Regions from separate parts of the Homo sapiens genome. Here all the other regions are linked to region 1. Evidence: promoter capture Hi-C in 16 types of primary human blood cells and fetal thymus (Javierre and others, 2016). All regions are on one chromosome and are shown on one strand. Each heading gives the region's core, a stretch centred on a gene start or on the middle of the fragment in contact. The rest is flanking DNA. Distances are from core to core; before and after follow the strand shown.

Region 1 (5,710 bases), core at 1,181-3,680:
GACTCGAAGAGAGCTGTGGATATCCGGGGAAAGAGCATTTGTCTAGGTAGAGGGAACACCCAGTGCAAAGGCCCTGAAGCAGAAATGTGTCAAATGTGTTTGAAAAACACAAAACAGCTGGAATGGCTGGGTGCGGTGGCTCACACCTGTAATCTCAGCACTTTGGGAGGCCGAGGCAGGCAGGTCACCTGAGGTCAGGAGTTCGAGATCAGCGTGGCCAACATGGTGAAACCCCGTCTGTATTAAAAATAACGAAAATTAGCTGGGTGTGGTGGTGGGCACCTGTAATCCCAGCTACTCGGGAGGCTGAGGCAGGAGCATCGTTTGAACTCGGGAGGCTAGAGGTTGGAGTGAGATGAGACTGCACCACTGTACTCCAGCCTGGGTGACAAAGCAAGACTCCATCTCAAAAAAAAAAAAAACAAACCAAAAACAACAACAAAAACAGCTGGAGTAGGGGGAGTGGGTAGCAGGAAGAGACCAAGTTTGGCTGGGGGTGGGGGTAGGTCATATAGCCCTTGTCAGGCACCCTAAGACCGCCACCTTTTAGTGACTACAATGAGAGCCACCCAGAGGAAAAACAAGGAATGACTTCTGATTTTACACGATCACTTTGGTTGCTGTTGAGAACAAGATTACGGGGGGAGGGGCATGTGGAAGGCAGGAGACCGGCTAGGCTTCTGCAATAATTCAGGCAAGAGACGATGCAGCTTGGAGCAAAGTGGCAGCTGCAGAGGTGTTCTTTCCATTGGCTGCGAGGCTTGCCATTCCTCTCACTCAGCATCTATGTGCCAAAACCTGTGGTGGACACCAAGGCTGCGGACAAGCCCAAGGAGGTGTGTGCCTTTAGGAGCTTCCATCCAACAGGGGAGGTGGGTGAGCACCCAGGACACGACAGTGAGACAAGGGCTGGGACAGATGGGAATGACCTCTGGCACTCCACACTCCTGCTTCATGGCAAGTATCGCTGGGGCTCAAACCTGTCTCACTTTCCTGCCTCCAGACTTTGGCTTAAGTTGTATTTCCTCCTTGGAATTCATAATTCTTTTAACAAATACTTTAACATCTTTTATGCATTAGACTCTAGGGATTCAGACACAGTAAGAGCTTGCCACGTCCTGACACATGTCAAAATATCACCATCTTGCCTACACCAGCCCCTCCGAAAGTCTTTATGTCTATTAAGTGACACTACGTCCCCCAAGAAACTAGGCTCCACCTTCACAGCCAATTCACCACTAAAACCCCTCTAAAGGCTGAAATTCTCTGCTGCCCCCTCTTTAACATATTTTCCACCTGCACAATTCTCTTGTTATCTCTGCTGCTATAGCCACTGCCCAGGCCACAGCATGTCCTATTTCAATGGAGTAGGTAATAGCAGCACTCTGGAGACACAATGCCCGGGCAGCCACAATGCCTGTACCACCTGGGCAGGTGCCTTTTTCTGAATCTGTAAAACGGGGGTGATAGTAGTATCGACCTCAAAGGGCTGCTGTAAGGATCAAACGAGCTTACATTTGTACAGCACTTAGAATCAGCACCTGGTACAGAGTGTTAGTGAATGTGTTTAAATGCTCCATCTTTGATCCTCATTCACTAGGTCACCTTTACCAGCCTTTATTTTTTCAAATTCTCAAAGGCAACAACCTCCTTTCTGACTCAGGACCTTTGCACATACTATTCTTCCTAGAATATTCTCCTACTTTTCACCTAGCTCACTCTTATACATCCTTCAGCTCTCGGCTGAAATGTCGCTTCCTCAGAGAAGGCTGACTTGGCCTAAGTCCCCATCAGAGTACCGTAGTCTTTTAATTCATAGGCTTCAATGCACTTAGCAATGACACACTGGGTTTGATATTCTTTGATGCTTCTCTCCCCACTAGGGCCGTAGTCCACGAGGACCAGGACGGTGGCGTGTTCTGTCACCTTCGTATGTCCAGGGCCCCGCTCCGCGCCTGGCACACAGTAGGTCTAGCAATACCGGGCGAACGCTTCAAGCCCTGCCTCAAGCGCCACCTCCTCTGGGGCGCAGGTCCCAGCACCGGAGGCAGCACTTTCAGCCCCTTCCCGAACTTACCCAGTGCCGACTTGGGCACCTTTCCCTTGGCCGAGTTCCGCAGTTTCTGGGCCTGAATTGCCTTCGTCTTCCGGGGCCGTTTCACCGGAGCCCCTCTCGGCTTGGCCTGACCTGGAGGGTCCCGGGGGGCTGTAGGGGAAGAGAGAGGAAGAGACCCAGGTCAGAGGGCGCGCAGCGTTCCCATGCCACTGGGGCTAAGCCCGGCCTGGATTGTTTTCCATCCAGGGCTCCCGCCCGCAGCCACTACCATCCTCCTGCCCGCGCCGGACGTCCCCTGGCCAGCCCTCCTCACCCTCGGACGCCGCCAGCAGCTCCAGGCCCCGCCGCAGCAGGGCGGCGGACATGGCGGCGCTTGGCTCCGCCCACGAGCCTCACACTACTTCCGACCTGGCAGTCCCTGTCGTCTCGGCGGAAACCCGAGCCCGAACAGAGGGATCCGGAGGGGGATGGGCGGAAGTGCCCATCTTTCTTAGGACGCATGCGTTAGGGGTTTACACTTGAGCGGAAGAAGGGGCGGAAACTGGAGGCGGGTCCAAGGCGCAGAAAGACACATGTGTTACTCAATCCCAATCTACCTGGCTCCTGGCGCTCAGTCCCCTCCTTCCCCGGAAGCCGTCCGCAACCTGCTCCGCCGGGTTGGCCAATCCTCTCGGGTCTCGTGGCTCCGTGGCGGGCTAGGATGGGGACAGGGCGGAGTGTTTTTCATATACTTCAACCAGCACTAGGTATCGCACAGGTTGAGTGCAGCATGAGAATCCAGTTGTCTTCCCTTAAGCCAGACATTAAAGACATATCTTTGTTTTGAAAACTACAATTATTTCTCATAAAATACGTTGTTTATGTTACCAAGCAATGGGTTTATTGTCATTTTAAGTGAATTAATGAATATGTAAAATTTTTGTTTTAGTTTCTAGTATGGCAAATATCAGTTGCCTACATACAAAAGTTCTTTGGGATCCTGAATTTTTTAAAATTTATTTTATTTAATTAAATTAATTTTTTTTTTGAGACGGAATCTCGCTCTGTCGCCCAGGCTGGAGTGCAGCGATCTCGGCTCACTGCAACTTCCGCCTCCCGGGTTCAAGCGATTCTTTTGCCTTAGCCTCCCGAGTAACTGAGATTACAGACGCCCGCCACCACGGCCGGCTAATTTTCTTTTTAAAAAATTTTTAGTAGAGACGGGGTTTTGCCATGTTGGCCAGGCTGGTCTTGAACTCCGGACCTCAAGTGATCCGCCCACCTCAGCCTCCCAAAGTGCTGGGATTACAGGAGTGAGGGGATTCTGAAGTTTTAAATGTAAGAAGCTTCTTAGACCAAAACATTTGAGCCCCTCTGGCCTAGAAGTGACACTGCTTACCTGGGGGAGGAGCCCTGGGCTTGTTCGCTGCTCCATCTGCAGCTGGCAGCCCAGCACCTGGCATGGAGAAGACACGCAATAAGTGAACGGTGAATCAGAAGGGACCACTGGGTTCACTCAGCCGGGTTCTGAGGGCCTTCTGTGTACTTGACACCACAGAGTGTGGGACCTGGAGTTCGTCCTCCGGGATAGACCACACCGTTTAAGCTCCATCGGCTAGAGAGTAATAATAACAACCAACACAAACTCAAGCATTTGTGCTGTTCTACGTGCTTTACATTTGTTAACTTGTTTATCCCCCCTACCCTTCCAGGTAGGAATTGTCTTTTGCATTTTACAGACGAGGAAACAAACACAGAGAGGCGAAGGTCACACGGGTGGAGTCAGGGGTGGGAGTTAAGACTGGCAGCCTGGCCGCAGGATTTGTGGGGGCGCTCCTGTCCCAGCCACCAGGGAGAGCAGTGCTGTGGTGCTGGGTGGGGCCTGTCAAGCCATGGGGTCAGGTAGGCCCCTGGAGGGTGAGGAGGAGCTGACCATGTATGGGCAGCGGGGATTGTTCTAGGCGGAGACCGCTGTAGCGAGGACCTATCCCCTGTGACACACGAGTGGCCCTTCAGGATGCCATGCTGGGCTGGAGGGTCGCAAAGGCCTCAGACTCCATGATTTTGTCCTAAGGGGAGTGTGGGGCCTGGAACCCAGTGACTGTTCAGACATATGCCTCCTTCCTGCTTCTAACATAGCCGGATTGTTGTCTTACTTATTATGTGTATTGCGTATTGTCTGTTTCCCCGCCCATACCCCACTGTAAGCTCCGCAAGGCAGGGATCTTTGTTTTGTTCATTGTTATATCCCTAGCGCCTGGAACAGTGCTTGGCATACGGTAAGAGTTCAGAAACGCACGAAATGAGTGGATGAGAGCTGAGTTTGGGACGCCAGTGAGCCGCTGGGTTGAGGCCCAGGAGGTCGTGGGATGTGCAGCGAGTCAGCCTCTCAGGAGGGCAAAGGACCAAGCTCTGTCCTCCTCCCGATCTAGGCTGAATCAGCCCACGGTCCCCCGGGTGGAGGAGTTTTCTGCCAACGTGCCAGGTGGACCCCTGCAGCGTCCGCAGCCCAGCCGGGCACGGGCGGGACGGCAGGCCAGGCGCTGCCCCAGCCTCCCGCGGAGTTATCAGCACATCCGCGGGGCCGGGCGCATTTCTGCCAATAGGTGGCGCCGCAGGACAGCTTTCTCACGCGGCGAGACTCCAAGGCCTCAGCTGCGCCCACCCGGGCTAGGTGGGGGTGGGGGTCCGGACGTCCTTCTGCCTCGGCTGGCTCCTTGCAGCCAGCACCGTGTGGCCCCGGCTTCCTGCTGTCCCGCACCCCCTCCCACTCTCACCCTGGCCTGGAGGAGTGGCTGGGGAAGCTGAGGCAGAGCCACCAGGCTGGGCTGCCCAGGGCGGGGGGCGAGGTCCCTTCCTGAAAAGTGTGCAAATGACAGCTGGGAGCTGTGTGACCCCAGCAATCCCTTAACAAAGAGTGCCTCAGTTTCCTCATTGGTTGGATGGGGCTTGGCAGGGCAGCATCCCCCTTCTAGGAGAGGTGTGAGAACCGGTGGATCAATACCGTGCCGTGTGGGCCGGGCCTGGGTGGGTCTGCGCCCAGGGACTGCGTGTAGAGGGTGCTACAGCGCTGCCATGCTACCTGCTCCCTCTGGGCAAGACGGGATGGGCAGGGGCAGCCACTGTTGGGCCCAAGCAGATCACCCCACAGCCCGCATTTGGGCACCTGCGACCTGCCAGTCTTGACGTTGGCCCTGATGGGTCAAGCTGGGGGAGGGGGAGGGGGGTTGGGCAGCTGCTTCCTGTCTCCCTGTGGGAGGGCGGGTCATGAGGTCTCCCAGGCTAGTTCCCCACCTGGCATGACCCTGGATGAGCGGCTTCACTGCTCTGAGCCTGTTTCCACACTGGGTCCCTGCCTGCCCCTGATCCCCGCACTGAGGCTTTTGGCCACACAGAGGAACCATCGCCATAAAGGGCCCTTCGGCCCCCATGCCCTATGTCTCCTCCCAGGCTCCGTGAAACAGCTTAACTACCCTGGGCCTGGGAGGCTGAGAGGCAGGTGGCTTTCTGCAGGGCTGTGCAGCCCTTCAAGAACAGAGTCAGGACTCAAGCCCAGGTCTCCGGGTCCTAAGCAAGAGTATGTGTGTGGCCCCCAGGGACCAGTGGCCCCCTGGAGAGGGGACCGTAGGGTCTCTGGGAGGTGAGCAGTTCTGGAGAGGGTGTCCTGGTGGTCTG
Region 2 (5,710 bases), core at 1,077-3,576, 500 kb after region 1:
CTTCTGGATGGATCTGGGAGCCTGCCCCTTGGGATTTGGCAAAACTTCCCATCTCCTTAGCTACCTGTCCTTAATCTTATCCCTGACCCCTCGAGGGCTTTCAAGATAGCCTCTGTTAACATCACTACCCTCTGCCTGTGTAGAACTTTATAGAAAGGCTAGGCAAAAAATGAGACCCAGAGATATGGAAGAAACTGGCCAAAGAGGGGAAAGTGGGCTATTTCTTTTTTTTTTTTCTTTTTTTTTTCTGAGACAGAGTCTCACCCTGTTGCCCAGGCTGGAGTGCAGTGACAGCGATCTTGGCTCACTGCAAGCTCCGCCTCCCGGGTTCACGCCATTCTTCTGCCTCAGCCTCCTGAGCAGCTATGACTACAGGTGCCCACCACCATGCCTGGCTAATTTTTTTATATTTTTATTAGAGACAGGGTTTCACCATGTTAGCCAGGTTGGTCTTGATCTCCTGACCTTGTGATCCGCCCGCCTTGGCCTCCCAAAGTGCTGGGATTACAGGCCACCGTACCCGGCCAGGCTATTTTTTTGTTTTGTTTTTGTTTACTACTGTATTGCTTTTCTCTTTTTCATATTTATTGAGCACCTACTATATGCCAGTCACCATGCTAGATGCTTTAGTAACATGAAGGTTTCAAACTAAGAAAAGCTCAACAAAGAGCCCTTTAGAAAGGTAACAGTTTTCCTGTGTATTGGGGGAGTGGGTCTCATAAGGTTGTATGATGAGAAGCGCAAGTAATTGTTTTGTTTTTTTTTTGAGACAATGTCTTGCTCTGTCGATCAGGCTGGAGTGCAGTGGCGTCATCTCAGCTCGCTACAACCTCCACCTCCTGGGTTTAAGTGATTCTCTGGCCTCAGCCTCCTGAGTAGCTGAGATTACAGGCACGCGCCACCACGCCCGGCTAATTTTTGTATTTTTAGTAGAGACAGGGTTTCACTATGTTGGTCAGGCTGATCTTGAACTCCCGGCCTCAGGTGATCTGCCTGCCTTGGCCTCCCAAACTGCTGGGATTACAGGCATGAGCCACCACGCCCAGCCTGGCTAAGGTTCATTATCCCCATCTTTCAGATGAGGAGGCACACAACTCTCCCCAGATCCCACGTCACAGAGAATGCAGGTCTGAGTCTGTTCCTTGAGCTCAGGGTCTTGGCAATGGTGATGCTTTGGAGCTGCAGAATCCTCTGTTGGGGATGGGGCTGCCCTGTGCATTATAGTACGTTTAGCAACATCCCTAGCTTCCACCTACTAAATGCCACTAGCACTCCTTCAGATGAGACCACCAAAAATGTCTCCAGATGTTACCACATGTCCCCTGGGGGGTAAAAGTGCCCCCGTTGAGAGCACTGGCTCTTTTCTTCACAGTCCTGACCTGGTGGCCTGCACAGGCCACTTCTCCGAAGTGTTTCAATGCACTCTCTGCCCTGGGTACCTTGGACACAGCACCCTGGCCCAGAGAGGTTGGCTGACTTGCCTGAGACGCTGCTTCCTGGGAGACGCAGTAGCATCTTTCCTTTCTGTTCTGGTTATCTTTCTTAGTTCTTTACCACCTTATATTCCCCATGACAGGTGTGTTTATGTACACACATCTGCCTCACTCCACTCAGCTCCCTGTCAGGTTTCCTGCCAGTCTGTCCCTCTTCCTTCAGGCTCAGCTACGTCCTGCACAGACAGTACCACTGCACATACCTGTGTGTGCCCAGCGGTGGACCCACCTCCAAAAGCAGCCAGTGCTGACAGCAGAGAGCCTTCCACACTCAAGTCAGGCCAAGCAGGAATCGCTACCTGCCTGTCATGACCACATTCTCAGTGAACATTGACAAAGCCCCCTTAGCAGCTAATTAGCCCTGCCGTGCGCTAGGGATGCAATTTCTCATCTGGCAGTGCGCCACACTCCTGCCTCCCTGCCCAAAGGACGTAGTGGCTGCTGCTGATCGTCTGCACTGCTGTTCCAGGGGCAGGAGGTTTGCTGCAAATCAGGTACCCCCAGCTCAGTGAGCAGAACCAGTCCAAGGTTGAGTGAGGAGAAGGGCAAGAAGGGCAGGCACAGCCGTGAGTATGTTCTGGGGCTAAGTAACCATGAGATCAGCCCAGAGACCTTGCACAGTTAGGCAGGCCTGGACTTCTCGCCCTTCCCCTTGCAGCTTCTGCTCTCCCAGCTAGGGACTGAGGAAAGCCCTGCTTCTAGATGCCATGTGCTGCTGCCTGGCACGATAGGTACCCATCTGTCCTTGGGGTTCCTGAGCCTGGAGAGCGGGCTTTGTGAGCACTGGTGCCTCACCTGCCTGGCTCAGCTCTGCAGCCACAATATATGCTTAATACCTATTTGTTAAATGATTGAAGACTTGACTGCCATTCAGTACAGAGAATTAGCCAGGTGAATAAACAGGATGTGTCATAGAGGTTCTAGAATTGATCATGACCCTTTCTGTCTCATTCCTGACTTCTAATACCGTATATGCCAAATGGGGTTCTGCTGTGATTTAATTTCTTAAGGACTGGGTTTATCAAAAGTCCCTCCTGATCTAATCCTTTCCTCTAGGAAGGCTTCTCCTTTCTTCATCTGTCCTAAGTGCATGGTCTTCATCTCCTGGGTGGTCCAGACTAGGTGGCACTGGGCCTGCAGGCCTCTAGCTGCTCAAGGATGGCCCTGTCTGCATGCTTCCTTTCAAAAGCTAGCATAGAAAGGAGGGCCCAAGGTGAGGAAATTTGTCCAAAGTCACCCAATGAGTCGCAGGAAGGGCTAGAATCTGGTTATCTGGACCGTCCTAGAGCACTTTCACAGTGACAGCCGGCTGGAATCAAGTTTTCATTTAGAAAAATGGCTAGAAGTTAGGGCATTGCCTGCAGCCACTGAAAAGCAGCTTTAGGAGCAGATGTCCACGTAATAGAAGGAGATGGGCTAGGGCCTGCCACGGAAGCCAGCAAGCGCGTGGGAGCTGGGGGAGGAAAGGAGCAAAAGGCAAGAACAGGCAGTATGTCCGCGGTGCCCACAGTGCTGTGGGTACAAGCAAGGGGAAAAGAGCCCATGGTGTGCAGAAAACCATGCGTCATGATTCTTATTTCCTGCTCGCAGCTTTGACTCTCTGCCTCATCTCTTCCTGGAAGTGTCTTGGAAGTTAGGCGACTGCACAGGGAAAGGTTCGCTGCAGTGCTTGCAGGCCTGCACCCATTTATTCATCCGGTGGATATTTGCTGGGTGCCCGGCCTGGGGATCCATGGTGAGCGAGGAAGGCATGGTATTGAAGTGGTATGCCTGCATGACCTTGGCGGGGGCGCATGGCATAGAGAGGACAGGCTTCAGAACAGGCAGGCAAGGGCTGAAATCCTATCTCTGCCACCGAACAGCTAATGACCCCAGCAAGCAATTTCACATCCCCGAACTTTCCTGTTTCCTCATGTGTCAAATGGGGATGATCTCGAGACGACTCTCCAGAGTAACCACGTGAAGCACCTAGCACAGGGGCTGACGCAAACAGCTGGGCATCGGAGGAGCCTCCAGGGTTGTGACCTCCAGTGGCTTATTTTCCTTTTGGGATCTTCTCTCCTAGATCCTCCCCTTTAATTCCCTGTGAAATTTACCACTTTCATATTGAATCGTTGGCACACAGGGCTAACTGCTTGTTCACCTGAAGGAAGCTACAGAGTTCAGGTTTCTTTTTTCTTTCTTTCTTTCTTTTTTGCTTTTTTAAGATGATCTTGCTCCGTCACCCAGGCTGGAGTGCAGTGGCGTAATCATGGCTTCCTGCAGCCTCAAACTCCTGGGCTCAATGAGTTCCTTGAGATCTTCCATCCTCAGCTTCCCAAGTAGCTAGTAGTAGTAGTGGCTTGCACCAACGCTCCTGCCCTAATTTTCAATATTTTTTTGTAGAGATAGGATCTCACTGTGTTACCCAAGCTAGACTTGAACTCCTGGCCTCAAGCGATCCTTCCGCCTTGGCCTCCCAAAGTGTTGGGATTACAGGCATTAGCTACCACACCTGGCCAAGGCCCAGGTTTCGACAGAAAGGGAGAGAAAACCTGCCAGAGATGCCATTTCGGAGCCACTCTGCTTGGCAGGGACCTGTGTTCCCCTCATGCAGGTTCATCCTTAGAGGGCTGCGGTCTTATCTGGTTGTGCAAAAGTCCCACAACCTTTCTGGATTGATAGTTTGTGGTGAAATAAACAATTTTAGTTTGTTTGGAGAATCTTTTGTATACAAAATACAAATAAAACCTAAATCAAAGAAACAGAGCATGTCCGGAGAAGTCTGCCAACCCTTCTCCAGGCCATGGGGCTTCCCAAGCCAGGCCTGTACTCCTCATGTAGATTCCACACCCCGCCTTGATGTCTTTGGCTTTCACACTAGTGACTATAGCCTGGTGGGACGGGGTCTAGGGGCCACAGTCCTGGTCCTGCGCAGGTGGCCCTGGAGAGAAGCCTTGGAGAACTTGGAGAAGCCCACGCGGCTGGCAGCATCATGGTGAGAGGCTGACACCTTGTGGCTGGCTGGCAGCATACGTCCTTCCTCCCCTAGGTCAGCTAGACGGCCAAAGCAGGGATCTGCAAGCTCCTTCTGTGGCGGGCCAAAAAGTGAACATTCAGTGTGTCTGTTGCAGCTACTGTCATAGCACTGAGGCACCCCTAGACAGTACAGAAACAAGCAGGTGTGGCCATGTTCCAGTGAAACCTTATGAATACTGAAATCTGAATCCATAATTTTCATGTATCACAAAGTAGTAATATTCTTTTAATATGCAAAAACCGGCCAGGTGCGGTGGCTCATGCCTGTGACCTCAGCACTTTGGGAGGCCGAGGTGGGTGGATCACCTGAGGTCAGGAGTTCGAAACCAGCCTGGCCAACGTGGTGAAACCCTGTCTCTATTAAAAATACAAAAATTAGCCTGGTGTGGTGGCACATGCCTGTAATCCCAGCTACTCGGGAGGCTGAGGCGTAGGAATTGCTTAAACCTGGGAGGCGGAGGTTGCAGTGAGCTGAGATCATGCCACTGCACTTCAGCCTGGGCAACAGAGCTAGACTCCATCTCAAAAACAAACAAACAAAAAAACAAAAGCAAAAACCAGTCTTAGCTCACAGGCTGTGCCAAAACAGGCAGTGGGCTGGATTTGGTCCTCAAGCCTGGGCTTGCTGACCTCTGGCCTAGGACACCTCTCCTTTATGCCTCCGCTCCCAACACGGACTCTCAACTCTCATGTTTACCTTGTCATTGTTCTGTCAAGAGGAATTCACTAGTCTCACTCCTCCAACCAGACCGCTGCCACTAAGGCTTCTTCTGAACAGAAATTCTGGATTTGTTCTCACCCATTTCATAAATGTACATAAGCACCCATCAGGTGCCAAGCCCTGTGCTGAGATGCCTGCAGAGCCCAGAGTTTTCACCAACTTTTTTTTTAAGAGATGGGGGTCTCTGTTGCCAGGTTGGAGTGCAATGACATAATCATAACTCACCGCAACCTCAAACTCCTAGGTTCAGGTGATCCTCCCGCCTCAGCCTCCCAAGTAGCTGGGACTACAGGCATGCACCACCCTGCCCAGCTAATTAAAAAAAAAACTTTAGGGATGGGGTCTTGCTATGTTGTCTAGGCTGGTCTCTAACTCCTGGGCTCAAGTGATCCTCCCACCTCAGCCTCCCAAGTAGCTGGGCTTACAGATGTGAGCCACTGCACCTGCTCAACATTTAATTTTTTCATTCATTCATTCG
Region 3 (5,710 bases), core at 953-3,452, 470 kb after region 1:
TGAAAGTCAAGCAATACATTCATTAGTCACCTCACCACCTTGTTTGAGAGCTGGTCCCAATTCTTGACTTGCTCCTAATACCTTCCTGCCTCCCTCTTTTCTCCCATTATCCTCCTCCCCTTCCATCTAAGGGGGACAATTGACTTTATCTAGAAGCTCGTAAGCTGCCTTTTAAAAGCCTGATTTAAATTCACAGAGCAAGAAGGGCCTCTCAGGCAGCCCAGGGACCCACAGGCCCCATGCACTCCTAATCGTTCCACCCTTCTGCAAGTGGCCATGCCACATGAGCTTTGTTTCAGAGGCACTGGGCAGTTCAGAGTCCTTGCTGCATTAAGGCTGGTGGATAATGGCACAGCTGCAGCTCCAGAGAATAAGCACTTAGCCTTTCTGGGATCTTGCCCCGGCCTGTCCAGGTATTCCTGGCAAGCCCTGGACGAATTGGCTATTGGGTTCTGAGTCTTTCTCTTTTATGCTTGATCAATGATCCCAGGAGCTGGCATTTCTGAGCAATGGACCAGCTTCATGTCAAAAACAGAAGACAGACTCTGAAGTTGAAAGGTCTTGATTTCTGCCCTCATCTGACCACTTACTCACTGTGTTCCCTTGAGCAAATCACCTCCCTCTCTAAAGCTCCTGGCTGATAAAATGGGGAAGATAATACTGAGCTTCCTGGATGGCTTTGAAAAACAAGGGAGGGTGGGGCATGGCGGCTCATGTCCCCAGCACTTTGGGAGGCCGAGGCGGGCAGATCGCTTGAGCTGAAGAATTTGAGACCAGCCTGGGCAACATGGCAAATCCCCATCTTTACAAAAAGTACAAAAATTAGCCAGATGTGGTGGTGTCTACCTGTAATCCCAACTACTCTGGAGGCTGAGCTGGGTAGGTAGGAGGATTGCTTGATCATGGGAGGTGGAGGTTGCGGTGAGCAGAGATTTCGCCACTGCACTCCAGCCTGGGTGCCAGAGTGAAACTCTATCTCAAAATAAATAAATAAAAAACAAAACAAAAAAACCCAAAAAGATAAGAAAAACAAGGGAGAAACCATGTGTGAAAGCTGAGGATACTGGAAAGTATCATACAAATGTTCATTATTTTAGAAAGTAACTGCTGTCATCTCTGCCTTTTTGCAGAGCAGAGGAGGGAAGGGTGGCCAAATTTTCTCCCCAGAAGTTAGGGAGCCCCACCCAGGAGATTAGAGGTAGGGGAATTGGGAGGGCCAAAGACCCTGTGCCGGCGTGTTTCCTGTTTCCACCTTTGAGCGAGACAGGAGTGGCTGCCCACAGCCCTCCCAGCCGCTCACTGTATTGATCTGTTTGCCTTGATTTGGTGGTGGTGGGCCGTGGTTGGTAAGGGCAGCTTTCTGCCGGCCTCCGAGCTGCCTTCGGGAGGCTGTGGCGTTGGAATCCTCAGCCCAGGATCTATGCTGGGATCTGGCATGGGCAGAGAGGGATAAAGCAGGAAGGTGCAGAGGCTTCCTTGTTCCTAAAGCGGGGGTCCCCTGAGGATGTTCCCCACACACGGTCATCCTGAAGGGCCAGACTGCTGCACAGGCCCAGCCCAGAGAGCCCCAGGGCAGCCTGGAAAGACTCCCCAAGTTCTTTTAGTTCTGGAGAACTAAAGCTTTCATTGGAACAAGAGGGTGGAGCTGCTGATGGTTAACCCTGATGTAATCATTGCCTTGGGCTGTGTTTCCCTCTTTGGGGAAGAGGGAGGGGAGAGTTGGCTCCTCTGAAATCCGATACTTTGGGTCCCTGAACCTCTGAGGATGGGTGTTTCCCAGAAAGTTCAAAAGTAGAAGTTGGGGCCTCAGTAAACTTCATGACCTTCTCTTGAAGGTTCACGGTAGCAAAGCCAGTTCTGTTGGGTGGAGGTCTCCAAAAGTCCAGGCCACTGGCGGGTGGAGGGATCCCATGCGGCTGGGAGCCAGGAGCCTGGGAATCGTCATTTTTGCCCTGGCCATCTCTTTCCTAGCTCACTGGGTGACGTGGGGTACATCATTTAGCTTTGCTGGGCCTCTGTTTCTGCATCTCTAACATGGGGATAATTCTTGCCTTCTTATTTCCACAAATTGTTCTGAGAACCTAGTTCAAGGCTATGAGAAAGCACTTTGAGAAGGGTGAGTGATGCGTGCAGTAAAAGGGATTTCTCTGAAGAAGGGCTAATGTTGAGTGACAGGATCGGTGCCCTGTGTGCCATTTCGTTTCGTTAATCCAACCCTCAGCACCTTGCAAAGGAAGAGATATTTTCCCTGAGGCTCCGGGAAAGCATAAGGTTGCAGAACTCAGAAGAGGCTGGGGGAGATTCCACCCAGGTCTCAGCTCAAAGTGGTGTCCATCCACGGCAGTTGCCCTTGGGAATTGTCCTCTGGGGCCATCTCTTCCTCTAAAACTTGCAGAAACATTCAAAGTCTGTATGTCGCCAGCCAGGCCCTGGGAGGCTCTTGGACCAGTTCTAGAGACAGACAAGTACACAACTGCCAGCTGGTCCACTCTGTGCTAAGGCTGGGGAAGAGGGTTCCTCCTGCCTAGTGACATTGAGGCAGGTAACACAGGGAAGCTGGGTACAGGTAGTTTCTCCAGAGACCTAGATTGTCCTCTTTATGGCCACTTTCTGGCCCCCTGGGACTTACGCCCCTCCCTGACAGGCTGAGACCTTGAAGTGAATCCTAGCCCAGCAACTGTCAGTCCCCCCATCTTCTCACCCCCAGGGATGCTGCCTCACCTTGGCTGGTGGCCAGATCTGCCTCCCTTTTCTTAGAGCGTGCAAAGCAGAGCCTATTTGGGGACAAGCTTCCAATCCAAGCTGGGGGAGGTGGGGAGGAGGGCAGAGAACAAATGAGCCCAGGGCTGCGTCCTAGCTGACCACCTGCCCCCTGCTCAGGGGGGGTGTCCTGAGCCACCCCCAAGGCTGAGTCATTCTAGCTATCCCTGCCTGCCCCCACCCCCACACACCATGCCAGGTGCCATGACCAGCCGGCCTCAGCTGGAGCTGCTGCCCTTCCCAGTTTCCTTGTTCATTCTCTGAAATCAGAGTCTGTGGACTTGCTAATGATCCCATAATCTTAGCCCTGGAAGAGAGCCTATGGCTTTTCTAATTATTAGTCTCTCTGGCCCAGGTTTCCAATAATCTGGAAACATATGCACGCCGGGGCACAGCTTGCACGCCGGTCATCATTCTGCTGGGCTCCTTGCAGTCCTGGCAAGGCATGTGGGAGGCTCCGGATAAGTGTTATTTTATTTATTTATTTATTTTTCAGCAGTGAGTCAGGAGATGGGGGTGCGGAGGTGGGACCCAGAACTCTCTACCTTTCAGTGGGCCATTGAGGACAGACTATGAGTTTCCCGAACTCACCCGCCTGGGAGGGCTCCCAGATGGCCTGGAGATTCCTTGCATTTGCTCATTCACTCACCATGTTTCACTGAGACCCAACTATGTGCCAGGAACCAGAAATTTACAGAGGAGTACGGTGAGAATTCTGCCTTAAGTCTAATGGGGGGTGACAAAAAGAAACTAAATTTCAGCACAGTGGTAGGGGTGGGGATATTGATAGCTATTACTTATTGGGCATATAAGTGCTAGGCAAATGCCAGCCCTTTTAGAATTTTATTTTATTTTATTTTATTTTATTTTATTTTATTTTATTTTATTTTCTGAGAGGGAGTCTTGCTCTGTCACCCAGGCTGGAGTGCAGTGACTCTTATCTCGGCTCACTGCAACCTCTGCCTACTGGGTTCAAGCGATTCTTCCGCCTCAGCCTCCCAAGTAGCTGGGACTACAGGCGTGTGCCACCACACCTGGCTAATTTTTGTATTTTTAGTAGAGACGTGGTTTCACCATGTTGCCCAGGCTGGCCTTGAACTCCTGACTTCAGGTGATCCACCCGTCTCAGCCTCCCAAAGTGCTGGGATTACAGGTGTGAGCCACCGCACCCAGCTAATTTTTTATTTTTAGTAGAGATGGGGTTTCACCGTGTTGGCCAGGCTGGTCTCAAAACTCCTGACCTCAAGTGATCCACCCTCTTCGACCTTCTAAAGTGCTGGGATTACAGGCGTGAGCCACCGCGCCTAGCCTATTCCATTTAATTTTTTTACAACAATCTAGCAGCTTTTCATTTTACGGATGAGGAAACTGAGGTTCAGAGAGGATAAGGTCACACCACCAGTAAATAGGATGCTAGATGGGAACTGAGATGTGTCGATTCTCAGGCTTGTGCACCTGTACTGAGCTCCAGGTGAACAGCAGCTTCCTGGGAATTGATGGCTGAATCAGCCAGTTGTGGAAAGGCAGGGCAGGCTGTGTACAAAACTGGAGGCCCAGGACACGTGGACTCACACTGTTTCCATCACTTGAATGCCCTCCTGATCACTTTCAATCATATCCCTCCCTGCACTCTCAACTTGCCTCCGTAGGGAAGCCCTCCCAGGTAACATCATCTGGCAATAGCCACAGAGTTATCCTTGCTGCGTCTCAGCACCTCCCAGGCAAACTGCCAACTCCATTTGTCTTACCCTGATAGATCAATCAAGAAATACCTCGACAGATATTTCTTGAGCCCTGCCTCGCTCTGTCCATGTACTTGAGAGCTCAAGGCTAGTAACACCAACCAGCAGATGATCCTAAAAATCGCTTGTGTATCTTCTTTGGATTTTTTTTAGCCACTGATTTATCTTTCTAATTATGTTTGGCTTTAAGCTAATGTTAAAATGAGCTTGCATTAGATAATTTTCACTAATTAACACCAACTTAGTGCCGGGAAAGTCATCCCAGAAGCTTGCCGTGGGGCAGGGAAAAGCTGGCCTAGGATCTTACAAAGAATTGCTCTGCCTACTCCCTGGCAGGTCACAACACGTGGCTGTTCACAGCTGAATTAGCTGGCCTTGCTCACATGGGTGCCATCTGTCTTCCTCCTCTGGAGAGCCAGCCTGGGTCTCCTTTGTACATACACCCTCCTTCATTCAACCTTGTCGAGAGTGATGGCCTCACTGGATCAGCTCGACAGGGAGTGAGCCCCAGGGGTTGCAGCAGGGAGACCTGACCTGCAGGGTCGGAATCAGAGCCCCACACTGAGGTAGAGGGCTCTGGGAGAGGAAGCGGCCTGGCTGGGTGGAATTGGGCTCTGCTGCTGCCAGTGTAGGGAGGGAGCCCAGTGTTTTATGATGTCTAATTAGTGAGTCCAAGACAATGGAACGCGGCCACAGATAGCTGGGAAGCCCCAGCGGACGAAGCACAGATGCTCTGCTGCTGGGGTGGGGGCAGCCTCGCCTCCAAGTGGGGAACAAGACCCTGTTGTAGCCGGGCGCGGTGGCTCACGCCTGTAATGCCAGCACTGTGGGAGGCCGAGGCGGGCAGATCATTTGAGGTCAGGAGTTTGAAACCAGCCTGGCCAACATGGCGAAGCCCCGTCTCTACTGAAAATATAAAAATTACTCAGGTGTGGTGGCATACTCCTGTAATCCCAGCTACTCGGGAGGCTGGGGCAGGAAAATTGCTTGAGCCCGGGAGGCAGAGGTTGTAGTAAGCAGAGATTGCACCATTGCACTCCAGCCTGGGCAACAGAGTGAGATGCCATCTCAAAAAAAAAAAAAAAGATGCTATTGCAGCTCTGGATTTGGCTCTGCCCTCTTGATGGACCAGGACTCAGGCCCAAGCCACATCTCAGCTCCCCAAGGGAAGCCACCTATGTGGAGGCATTCTGTTTAGATCGATGGCA
Region 4 (5,710 bases), core at 843-3,342, 430 kb after region 1:
TGCACACACCACTCTTTAGAACACTGGTGTGTGTTTGAAATTATTTCTACGCCCATCTGCCTCCCCTTCTAGCCCAGGTGCTTCTGGAAGGGCAGGATTTTCCTCTACTTCATCTTTATGCCTTTAACAGTGTCTTGCATAAAAGAGAGACACTCAGTGAGTATTTGTGGAAGGAAGGAGGGATAGGAGGAGGAGAACTCCCACTTGTCCAGATCCATCTGGGGGTTTAAATCTTAACCTTTTCTTTTATGATTGATGCATATCTGAAGAAGAGTCAGAGAAAAATAGAAATCTCAAGTCACTGCTGTAGGATATACAGGGGCGGAAAAGTTGTGGCACCTTTCTTTGCCCATCAGAGGAGTCACAGCTGACACTCCTACAAGACAGGTTAACAAGAGGAGAGTGGACACATTTATTTAATCAAAGACTTGTGTGACACAGAAGCCTTCAGAAATGAAGACCCAAGACCCAGGGAAAGCCGTCTATTTTTATGCTTAGGTTTGTCAAAGGACAGACAGCCCTGTAGAAATGGGATTGGACAAAGGGGGTTTGATCTAAGGTAACAGACTGAGGTAGGAAACTGAACAAGGCCTGTCCCAAGTCTTCTTTTTTTTTTTTTTTTTTGGAGACAGCTGTTGCCCAGGCTGGAGTGCAGTGACGCAATCATTGCTCACCACAGCCTCTGTGTCCCAGGCTCAAGCCATCTTCCCACCTCAGCCTCTCAAGTAGCTGGGGATACAGGTGCACACCACCACACCTGGCTAATATTTTTTTAACTTATTTCTTTGTAGAGACTAGGTCTTACTGTGTTGCCTGGGCTGATCTCAAACTCCTGGCCTCGAGTAATCCTCCTGCCTTGGCCTCCCCCATAGTGACCCTTCTAGTCTCTCTGACCCACTGTGGGGAAGAGGAATTCTAATTTCTATGACTCACTCAGGGGGAGAAAGAGGAGCGGGAGACAGGAGGGCAGGAGAAGGCCAAAGGAAGACTTTGCTTCCAAGGCTGCTTCTGAAACCTTCCCATCTCCTTTGGTTCGAAGCACTCAGCATGCCAAGGGGTGTCGTTTTCTGAGCCCCAACAAATACATGTATAGTTGTAGGCAGCTGAACAAAAAGAAAGGCTACTTCAACACAGTACAGTACAGCAAGACCGAAAACCACAGAACAGAGGGCCAGGAGTGGGGGAGGACTGTAACAGCGAAATCTCACTAAGGTGCAGCAACCCATAGGAAGTGACTCAGTCCACGCGTAGACATTACACAGCCCCAAACTCAGAAGCCCAGTTCGGAACACACTGTGTGTGGTCAGCATGTTGAGGATCGCAAGTCACGTATCAGACTTCACCACATGTGAAACTGCAAGAATATAATGCTGTTAGCAGATCAGGAGAAGTACAGCAAAACCTTACTGTCAAGTTATTGGCAGGAAATACCGATCTGGTTTATTCAATATATTTTGAAAGGCATAAAGCTTTGTTTTAAGGACAGAAATCCAATCTCAAGTAATAAACTGTGGCCACTTTGCTGTTTAGAAAGAATGGATATTTGAAAGGATAGGTAGGAAGGACTTAAAAATAACAGGTCAACAATTTGTATGCATACATACCTTTAAAGTGGTCTCTTTAGCATTGCCCTTGCAATCTTGCTTAAACTCTTTTCTTCAGTAAAAACTTTATTTTCATAGCTTGGAGAATGGTTAACTTTAGTTCAGGCCAATATTGATGTATCACAAATTCTAATCTTGTTAGGTCTTAATTAATGAAATTTCGCTCCATTAACATATATTACAAGTCAGGGTCGGGCGCCGTGGCTCATGCCTCTAATCCCAGCACTTTGGGAGGCTGAGTTGGGAGGAATGCTTTAAGCCAAGGAGTTGGAGACCAGCCGGGGCAACTAGTGAGACCTCATCTCTACTAAAAATAAAAAATTAACCCAGTGCAGTGGCGCATGCCTGTGGTCCCAACTACTTGGGAGGCTGAAGTTAAAGGATTGTTGGAGCTGGGCGGTTGAGGTTGCAGTGAGCCAAGATCGATCGCACCACTGCACTCTAGCCTGGGTGACAGAGCAAGACCCTGTCTCAAGAGAAAAAAATTATTTACATATATTATATACATATATTATTAGAAAAAACAATTATACATATATTTAACATGCGTGTATATATATTACAAGTCAAATCTATTTCTTAAGCCTCCCCTCTTTACCCCATCATAAACTTGACCAAGTAATTTGTTAGACTGAGGGGTATCTCTTGGGCCTTTGGTTTGCATGAAGATGACTCTGGCTTTTTCAGCTAGAAACTATGGTTTTTGTGGTTTCGTTGGTTTTTTGAGACAGACTCTCGCTCTGTCGCCCAGGCTGGAGTGCAGTGGCGCAATCTCGGCTCCCTGCAACCTCCGCCTCCCAGGTTCAAAGCAATTCTCGTGCCTTGGCCTCCTGAGTAGCTGGGACCATGGGTTCGCACCACCACGCCTGGCTAATTTGTGTGTGTGTGGTTTTTTTCAGTAGAGACGGGGTTTCGTCATGTTGGCCAGGCTGGTCTTGAACTCCTGGCCTCATGTAATCCACCCGCCTCAGCCTCCCAAAGTGCTAGGATTACAGGCGCGACCCACTGTGCCCGGACCCAGAACTATGGTTTATATTTCCTTAATTAAAGTGAGTTCTACAAAACAGTAGGCCTTGACTTCTACCGAAGTCTTCCCCTGATATTCAGGCGATGAAGCTTCTAGTTATGGTGACAATTACCGTAATCCTTATCACGTCTTTGCAGAAATGTAGTATAATATTTTCCAAAGCAAAATCATTATTAATTATTTTTACATCTGTCATGGGCACAGATAATTAAGAGCTAATTGTAGTTCTATCACTCAGCATTTGTTAAGGGCCTGAAACACCAGATTTTGGAGTCCAGCGCCCTGAGTCGCATCCTTTCCTTTGTTCCTCTTCAGGCTTGAGACAATGGTCAGGCCATCCTCTCCTTGTAGACCCAGATAACCAGCTGCAACCCTCACACCCATCCTTACAGCTTATGAGAGTAAAAGGGTCAATGTTTCACACTCTGAGTTCTTTGAGGTGGTGGATGAAAAATTATAATATCACAAGAATATTTTCTCCTCCTCACCTGGATGTGAAGGATAATGACTTTGAGTTGATCCATGTTGTCTTAGAATGAAGAAAGTATCTGTTGGTGGCCAAAACCAAGGGGAAGACCACAAAGTGATTGCAATATGTTGATTACCACCCGAAATCAGTCAAGCAAGAGGCCACTTGTACAACCTGTGGCTTCACCCAGCTATGAGCAAATCCCAGCACATAAGATGAGATTGAGGGTCAGAATTTCCATCTCCTTCTTAACACAGGTCCCTAAATCCATCCCTAAGAAACCTCCATGGTCAGGCGCAGTGGCTCACGCCTGTAATCCCAGCACTTTGGGAGGCTGAGGTGGGCGGATCATGAGGTCAGGAGATCGAGACCATCCTGTCTAACACGATGAAACCCCGTCTCTACTAAAAATACAAAACTTAGCCGGGCGTGGTGGCGGGCGCCTGTAGTCCCAGCTACTTGGGAGGCTGAGGCAGGAGAATGGCATGAACCTGGGAGGTGGTGCTTGCAGTGAGCAGAGATCACGCCACTGCACTCCAGCCTGGGCGACAGAGCGAGACTCTGACTCAAAAAGAAACCTCCACTTACTCTCAGAGGTATCTTTACTCTCCGAGACCCTTTAAAATTCTTGACCTTTCTTTTACATCAGGCAATTGGCATCACTAGTGCCAGTTTATTTTTAGATATAAATGTATGTCTGTTTGAAAAATAAACTTTACATCCAAAAGAGAATGACTTGGCAATGAAGTAAAACTGGATCTAATGGTAAAGGCTCAGCCCACCCTTCCTAGATGGATAAAATCCATTTTCTCTAGCCCTGGTTCGAATGTGTCCCATCACTTGTGAGTCCAGACTGGCAACAAAAGGTGCTGATCTAAAAGAAGTTATCGTCCAGTGGCAGGGTCTGGGGAAGGGGCGGCAGGCGCCATGTCCAGCCACGAAGGTGGCAAGAAGAAGGCACTGAAACAGCCCAAGAAGCAGGCCAAGGAGATGGACGAGGAAGAGAAGGCTTTCAAGCAGAAACAAAAAGAGGAGCAGAAGAAACTCGAGGTGCTAAAAGCGAAGGTCGTGGGGAAGGGGCCTCTGGCCACAGGTGGAATTAAGAAATCTGGCAAAAAATAAGCTGTTCCTTGTGCCTAAGGAGACGGTGACCCTTTATTTCATCCGTATTTAAACCTCTCTATTCCCTCCTATAATATCTTTTGCCACCTATAGTTGGAATTAAGTGTCGTCTTGGAGCTGTTGTACATTTAAGAATAAACTTTTGTAAAAAAAAAAAAAAAAAAATCTTCCAGTGGCTCATCATCTCTTTAGTTGTTTTCACTAAGTCATTCCTACCATAACTGTGAATTTAAAGTAAAACCAGCTCAGAATCTTGCCAGAATCTGCTCTTTGGTCGTTGTTCTACCCTAAACTTTGTATCACCTGAAATTAAACCAACTCATTTGAAAGAAAAAAGAAGTTATCATGTTTAGGTGGCGTGACAGGCCAAGCTCACTAGACTGGAGTCAGAGACTCAGGGTTCTGGCCTCAGCCCTTACTCAGCAGTGACCTTGACCAAGCCCCTGCACCTCTGTGAGCCTCAGTGTCCTCATCTGTAAAATGGAGAAGTAAGGCTAAACAATCTCCAACATCCTTGCCAATTAAAACTCTATCATTTCACAGGGCGCAGTGCCTCACACCTGTAATCCCAGCACTTTGGGAGGCCAAGGCAGGTGGATCACCGGAGGTCTGGACTTCAAGACCAGCCTGACCAACATGGCGAAACCCCGTCTTTACTAAAGACTTGGTGGTGGGTGCCTGTAATCCCAGCTCCTCAGGAGGCTGAGACAGGAGAATCGCTTGAACCTGGGAGGCGGAGGTTGCAGTGAGCAGAGATCACACCACTGCACTCCAGCCTGGGCGACAGAGTGAGACTCCATCTCAAAAAAACAAAACAAACAAACAAACAAAAACTCTGTATTTCATACAAAGCTATTTCACCAAAAGCTGAAAACACTTTGTAACCTTATTTATGCAAAACATAAACCAAGATCAAGAGATCCTTATTACATAGAGAAAAAATGTGACATATTTCTTAGGAAAGAGAGTAGCTTCTTACCTGCCAGTGCTAGCTTATGGGCTTAAAGGAGATGGTTCAAAGAATTTCTGGTAACAGAAAGATAATAGGAGCTTGAAATACCCCTGTTGACATCTTGCGAATAAACATTGTGAAAAGGTCTTTGATCTCTTTGTCGTTAAGTCACTTGGAACATGCTTTTCTTGTAAAAGGTTAGTTCCAGTGTCCAAAACAAATTTTAGCTCATCTGATTACCTTCTGCTGATGTAAATCCCGTCTAGCATAGCCTGTATCCTAAGTGGTCCATCCTACAAAGTTCCTGCCGAAGCCTGACTGGGCTGGCCCACCTGCCCAGTGATGAGTGAGTCATCCATATCTACATCTCCTGCTCAAAGAGAACTCCACCATCCCAGATGTGAGCAGCCTGGAGGTGGTGACATTATCACCGTGTAACATACAATTTTGTTTTGCCTTGATCTCCAGGCATGAGGATGACGTTCAACACTTCAAGGTCATGCGAGACAACAAGGGTAATTACTTTCTGTGGACTG
Region 5 (5,710 bases), core at 1,415-3,914, 390 kb after region 1:
AAGTACCCCACTAAATCCATTCTTCTATCTCCTTCAATATTTGACAAATATTTACTAAGCATCTATCTTGAGCAAGCATTGGAGTAAGTCCTCCCATAAATATGAAGTTGTGTAAATAAGGATGCATGCATTCATGTAAATACAAGTTTAATGCTGGATATATATTGTTTTAAGTGCCTGATATGTATTAGTCTATTTATTCCTATCTAAGGGGATAAGTGCCATTGTTGTTTCCATCTTAAAGATGAGGAAACTGAGGCCAGAGAGATTATACGAACTCCTAAAACCCTAACTCTTAACCACAGCATTCAGAATCTATCTGGTTGTAGTGGAGGACCCAATGTCAAAAAAGCAAGTGCTTTTCCCAGACCATGAACACAATGTGTGACAAATTAGCAGTTCTTCCCCTTGCCCTAAGATAGTAAATATCCACCCAGGCCAACTTGTGTCTGTCAGAGAACAAAGAGTGGGCTTGTCACACTGTTTTCTCCCAAGAGGGTCCATCTGCCTCCGCTCCTTTGGTACACGCTAGGGGACACACACTGTCCAGCATATTCTTGCAGAGTCATATCTTACCCCACATCTTATCACAACCCTGCTGAATGTCAGGCACTATCAAGAAAATGTTCACTCATCTTCTTCCCGTTATGCCCAATGTGTGAACTGATAACACATCTAAATTCAAAGAAAATCAACAGACATCACCTCAATCAACCTGAAAAGTCTGGTGACTCATTCCCACCCTTCTCACGGGGCTCCTGCTGGGCTGCCTGGTTCTCCGGAACCAGCCTCCAGGCCTCCTGCAGCCGGGGTGCAGCTCAGTGTTCGAGCCCCCTCTCTGCTGCCCATCAGATGAGTGTTGACTTTCTTTGGCACAGGCATTTGAGTTGCATTTGAATTGCAGAACATGCTGCCCCCATTCTGTGCTGACTGTGACCCCACTTCATGTGCCCCAGAGGCAGGCTAAACAAGCTTGCCTTGGAAAAAATAACAGGGAAGAAGATGCTGACTCTCCAACCCCCAGAGTAAGTTCCGTCACTCTGGAGGTAAAGTCATAATATCTAAATATGGCTCGATTCATGTCAGGTCTTATAAATACACACACACACGTGGATGCTGAAACCGTGCATGCCCTGACAGCCAAAAAAAAAGTCAAAACGACTTACTGTCTCATTAGCAGGACAAGACCTGATAGGCCAGCTCACCAGAATAAAGAATACAAAAAATGGGTATTTAACTTCTCTACACAGACACACACACACACACACACACACACACACACACACACACACACACAATCTGATGTAACGACCTCAAGAGAGCTGGTTGCCCTGGCAATGAAGAATCGTTTGTATATTCAAGGATTTTCTTGTTTAAATTTAAGCTAGCCACTTGAACTTCTCGAGCTTTCTTGAGCTTAGCTTCAGGCCTCCATCCCCAGACAGAGGTCTGACATCTATGTCAGCCTCTAGCAAGGCAGGAAGCTTAGAAGTCGGACCAAAACCTCACAAGCCAGCCAGCCTGGATTTGAATTTCAGCTCTATGGTTTCTCAGCTGTGTGACCTGGGTTAGCTGCTTAACCACCTTGAACCTCTATTTCCTCACCTGTACAATGGGAATAATAAAATTAAAACAAACTTGCATGGGTTCATTATGAAAATTAGATTGATTGATGACATAATACATAGCAAGCATTTAGAGCTGTGCCTGATTCCGAATGTGAGTTATCTGTAATAGTGACTTGAAATGGGTTTACACTGCCTGGCAGGAAACCATTCAATTCCTTTTTGTTTTTGACTTTAATCTTTGAAGCGCTTTCATCTCATTTCTTCTTATTTTGTGTTTGTGGAGAAGGAGGATGTTTAGCCATCCTTGGAGTACAATCTTTTATTAAAAACCATTATTAAGTCTCTTCAAGTTTCTCTTTTGTAGTAAATGATCTAGATTACTTAATGGTTCTGTTTTACATGTTTTAATCATTTATTTGAACCATCTCCAGATGTAGTACACACAGAAATATTGTCTAGGAAAATGTGTTACTGAAATTCCTTATCATCTGTGGTCCATTAGCTCAAATGTTTAAAACCCATTGTTTTTATTTTTATTATTTATTTATTTAGTTATTTTTGCAAGACAGGGTCTCACTCTTTTGCCCAGGCTAGAGTGCAGTGGCACAATTATAGTTCATTGCAGGCTCGAACTCCTGGGCTCAAGCAATCCTCCAGCCTAAGCCTCCCCAAAACTTCTTATTCTTAAGAGCAAAGTTGAGTTCCATCATATTGTCAGTTGGTTTCACTCCATCATATTGCCAAAACCACCTAATTCTCAGATGCATAGTTTAGCACAAGCCAAACCAGAAGAGACCATAGGTCATTCATTCATTATTCATTCAACATTTACTAAGTGACTGCTGTATGCCAGAGGCTGGGCTATGCTGTAAAGTCACAAAGAAGATACTTCTCAGTTGGGAGAGCTTACAGCTTGAGAGAGAAGACACACAAGCAAACAAATCATTACAAATGCCTTTCCATTGGGTGCCATACTTGAAATGAGAAGATGAGGCCAGGGTACCCTTGGGGCAGAAGGGAGGGAGGATTAAGCTCAGGGAACAGCTTTACAGAGAAGGTAACATTTGCACCATATTAAAGGATGGCAAGAATTGAGGAGTACAAAAAGGAGAATAGTCCAAGAAGAAACACTCAGGGATGATTTGCACATTGTAAATTTAGGTAACCTTACATGCCTTACATGGGGCTGCTGTGACTGAGGCACAGGGTCAAGGAAGGGAGCAGAGTCATAAAGCTACCCAGGTCAGCCAAGGCCAGGCTAGGAGGCCTGAGCTTTATCCTGCAGGTGTGCAGAGCCAGAGGAGAGTGCAAGAAGAGACATGGCACAGTCTGATCTGTTTTGCACAAATCACTCTGGAAGCAATGAGGAGGGGAGAATGGAGGTATTTGAGCCTAGAGTCAGGAAGGAGAAGTAGGATGCCAGGGTTGTGGGGAAAGACGATAAAGCCCACACAAAGGAGGGCTGATGGAAAGATGGAAATCAATTTCAGGTATATTTAGGCCAGGTGCGGTGGCTCGCGCCTGTAATCCCCACACTTTGGGACGCCGAGGCAGGTGGATTGCCTGAGCTCAGGAGCTCACAACCAGCCTGGGCAACATGGTGAAACCCCGTTCTACTAAAATACAAAAAATTAGCTGGGCATGGCGGCATGCGCCTGTAGTCCCAGCTATTCGGGAGGCTGAGGCAGGAGAATTGCTTGAACCTAGGAGGCGGAGGTTGCAGTGAGCCGAGATTGCTCCACTGTACTCCAGCCTGGGCGACAGAGTGAGATTCAGTTAAAAAAAAAAAAAAAAATTCAGGTATATTTAAAATATAGTGTTTAGAGACCCATTAGTGGAAGATACCAGATTTGAGAAAGGGGAGGAAAAGACACGGAGGAGTCCAGAAGAAATTTCCAGATTTCTGGCCTGGATAACTGTGAGGGCAGTGGTGCCAGATAGTGCCAGAATGAAATATATAGATTGGCACAAATCCATCTCTCAGAAATGCACCTCTGAGACATCTGTTCTGCTGAAGGTCAGTAGGGAAGGCCAACTTCATGTGCAAAGAGCAATATGTGTGTATTTCTTACTAGCTATTCTTTTTAAAATACTTCTTAATATATGGGACATACATGAGCTAAGATAGTATTCATGCAGGAGGTTTCATTTTTCATTTTCTGGCAATTGTGTTTTCAAATATGAGATGCTAGCATTATTTCAGTTATCTATGCCTAGCATAGTATATATCTACGGTTCAAGATTATTAATTGTCTCCCCTGCCTCCCCACTAGAAGGTAAGCTTTCTGAAGCCAGGGATTTTGTCTCTTTTGTCCTCATCTCCATTCCTAGCCCTTAAAACTAAGTTTGACTCCCAATTATCGAGTAAATGATTGAATTTCCATCTGAGTAAAAAGAAACAGTCATTTCCTTTACTAATGAGGAAAGAAAAGGAAAACAACAAACAAATCTGGACTTAAAACAGTTTTTACAAAAAGATCCAATTTGCAAAAATGGAACTGAAGTTTAAAAGCTACTTTTCTCCCTGCAGCTCTACTTCTGGGAAAGTCACAGCTGCCAGCTTAGATGGTGGTTTTCACTGCCCGGTTACAAATTCTGCACAGTTGTACATATTGGCAGGGCTCAGCTTCCTTAAATGCCATTGGATCAGTAGGGAAATGGTGATTTTCCTTATTGATTTAATGCCAGTTCCTCTTTTATGAAAAATCCCACGTGCTGCTCACTGGCGTATGTACCATAAAAACTGAACGTAGGGGGCCAGAAATTAAGTAAGTCACTCATGTTCTTCTCCAGCCATGTGACGTTAAACCATCTCTACTTTCAGGCTGGAGTGTTCAATCATTCTCCCTTTAAATTTAGCAGAGTGATTATTCCTCCTGGTGGATTGCACATATGCTCCTTTGATCTATGAAATACTCATTCTGGATGAACTTTAAGCTCCCAGGAAATGCATGTAAAATACTGTTTATAAATCGCGGGAGAAATGTTTCACATTCTTATTACTCCCAAGTAATCATACCAAGCCTCTCTCTCCAAGATTCGCTTTTTTTCCTAGAAGAGGGAAAAAGAACTTCGGGCAGTAGCACTGTGACAATCATCACCACGGTCGTACTTTCCATGAGTTTTACGCAGTAGGCTCACGGAAGTGACAATGCATGGTCGGGCGCGGTGGCTCATGCCTGTAATCCCAACACTTCGGGAGGCCGAAGTGGGTGGATCAACTGAGGTCAGGAGTTCAAGACCACCCTGGCCAACATAGTGAAACCCTATCTCTACTAAAAATACAAAAGATTAGCCGGACGTGGTGGTGGGCGCCTGCAATCCTAGCTACTCGGGAGGCTGAGGCAGGATAATCACTTCAACCCGGGCGGCGGAGGTTGCAGTGAGCCAAGATTATACCACTACACTCTAGCCTGGGTGACAAAACGAGACTCCGTCTCAAAAAAAAAAAGAAGTGACAATGTAGGATACCCATTCATCAGCAAATATTTAATGTGAGCAGGACAATGTGCTAAGTCCATAGACTGCAAAGAGGAGTGAGGCTGGGTTCCCATCCTCTGGGGCTTACAAGGTAGCTGGAGAAGTAAAACTCAAACCACAAAGTGAAGTTAATAGTCACCAATGAACAACATAGTAAGCTCTGCACTGGTTCAGAAGAGGACAGGAGTAACAAGACAGTAATCCTAAAGGAGATGGACTTGAATTTGAGCTGGACCTGAAGAGTCAGGAGCTAGAGTGAGTAAAGGCAGAGTGGTGGGAACATTTGTGAATCAAAGCTCAGGTGGGGGTTACGGCAGGCAGGGTGGGGATAGACTGAGGATGACTTTGAATGCCATGCCACTCTAAGGACTTTGGACTTGACTCTACAAGCAAGGTGGAATTATTAAGAGATTTTGAGTAGAAATGATGTGAGCTGAACAGTGCTTTTGAGAAACTAAATCTAGCAGGGATCAGTGCTCCAAATTAATTGGACATGTTTCAGACTTGAGATCATGAGACCCTGACCCAGGCTGGGGACAATGGGATGTCTCCATCATACATTACATTCCTGTGAATACTTCTTACAGATTCATATGAAATTCTGCCTCAATGTGCCTACTGTCTCTGCACTGTAAGACAGTGATATTGTGATCCTGTGTGCT

Evidence for each region. Contacts are between HindIII fragments. The CHiCAGO score rates a contact against its expected background, and 5 or more counts as called.
Region 2: a fragment that was not itself captured here is called in contact with the fragment with the promoter of RPS19BP1 in region 1 in 13 of 17 cell types (naive CD8 T cells, naive B cells, total CD4 T cells and 10 more); the score reaches 12.8 in naive CD8 T cells.
Region 3: a fragment that was not itself captured here is called in contact with the fragment with the promoter of RPS19BP1 in region 1 in 1 of 17 cell types (activated CD4 T cells); the score reaches 5.1 in activated CD4 T cells.
Region 4: a fragment that was not itself captured here is called in contact with the fragment with the promoter of RPS19BP1 in region 1 in 5 of 17 cell types (naive CD4 T cells, total CD8 T cells, naive CD8 T cells and 2 more); the score reaches 5.4 in naive CD4 T cells.
Region 5: a fragment that was not itself captured here is called in contact with the fragment with the promoter of RPS19BP1 in region 1 in 1 of 17 cell types (total CD8 T cells); the score reaches 5.3 in total CD8 T cells.

The regions. Positions count from the first base shown.
Region 1 is chr22:39,530,318-39,536,027 of GRCh38, forward strand. RPS19BP1 (ribosomal protein S19 binding protein 1) reads right to left here and starts at 2,431. Exons shown (of 4, transcript NM_194326.4): 1 at 2,370-2,431; 2 at 2,078-2,206. The coding sequence starts at 2,421. RefSeq lists enhancers at 1,645-2,160, 2,161-2,676, 2,466-2,525, 2,576-2,625 and silencers at 1,886-2,015, 2,196-2,355, 4,427-4,721, 4,587-4,636, 4,697-4,786. The HindIII fragment of the contact is 8,920 bases long and covers 1-3,379 here.
Region 2 is chr22:40,032,337-40,038,046 of GRCh38, forward strand. It overlaps FAM83F (family with sequence similarity 83 member F), which reads left to right. Exons shown (of 5, transcript NM_138435.4): 5 at 1-5,710. Among named protein-coding and RNA genes, the nearest start is that of TNRC6B-DT, 9.3 kb to the right of the region's middle. The HindIII fragment of the contact is 9,682 bases long and covers 1-5,710 here.
Region 3 is chr22:40,000,668-40,006,377 of GRCh38, forward strand. The region is part of intron 1 of FAM83F (family with sequence similarity 83 member F); the gene reads left to right. Among named protein-coding and RNA genes, the nearest start is that of FAM83F, 8.6 kb to the left of the region's middle. RefSeq lists enhancers at 4,676-5,177, 5,178-5,677. The HindIII fragment of the contact is 1,169 bases long and covers 1,619-2,787 here.
Region 4 is chr22:39,960,348-39,966,057 of GRCh38, forward strand. GRAP2 (GRB2 related adaptor protein 2) reads left to right here. Exons shown (of 8, transcript NM_004810.4): 5 at 5,643-5,710. It overlaps TMA7B (translation machinery associated 7 homolog B), which reads left to right and starts at 50. Exons shown (of 2, transcript NM_001396013.1): 1 at 50-572; 2 at 3,573-4,558. The coding sequence starts at 4,028. The coding sequence ends at 4,222. RefSeq lists a silencer at 4,881-5,058. The HindIII fragment of the contact is 1,251 bases long and covers 1,468-2,718 here.
Region 5 is chr22:39,919,694-39,925,403 of GRCh38, forward strand. All of the region lies in intron 1 of GRAP2 (GRB2 related adaptor protein 2), which reads left to right. Among named protein-coding and RNA genes, the nearest start is that of GRAP2, 21 kb to the left of the region's middle. RefSeq lists an enhancer at 1,385-1,434. The HindIII fragment of the contact is 2,365 bases long and covers 1,483-3,847 here.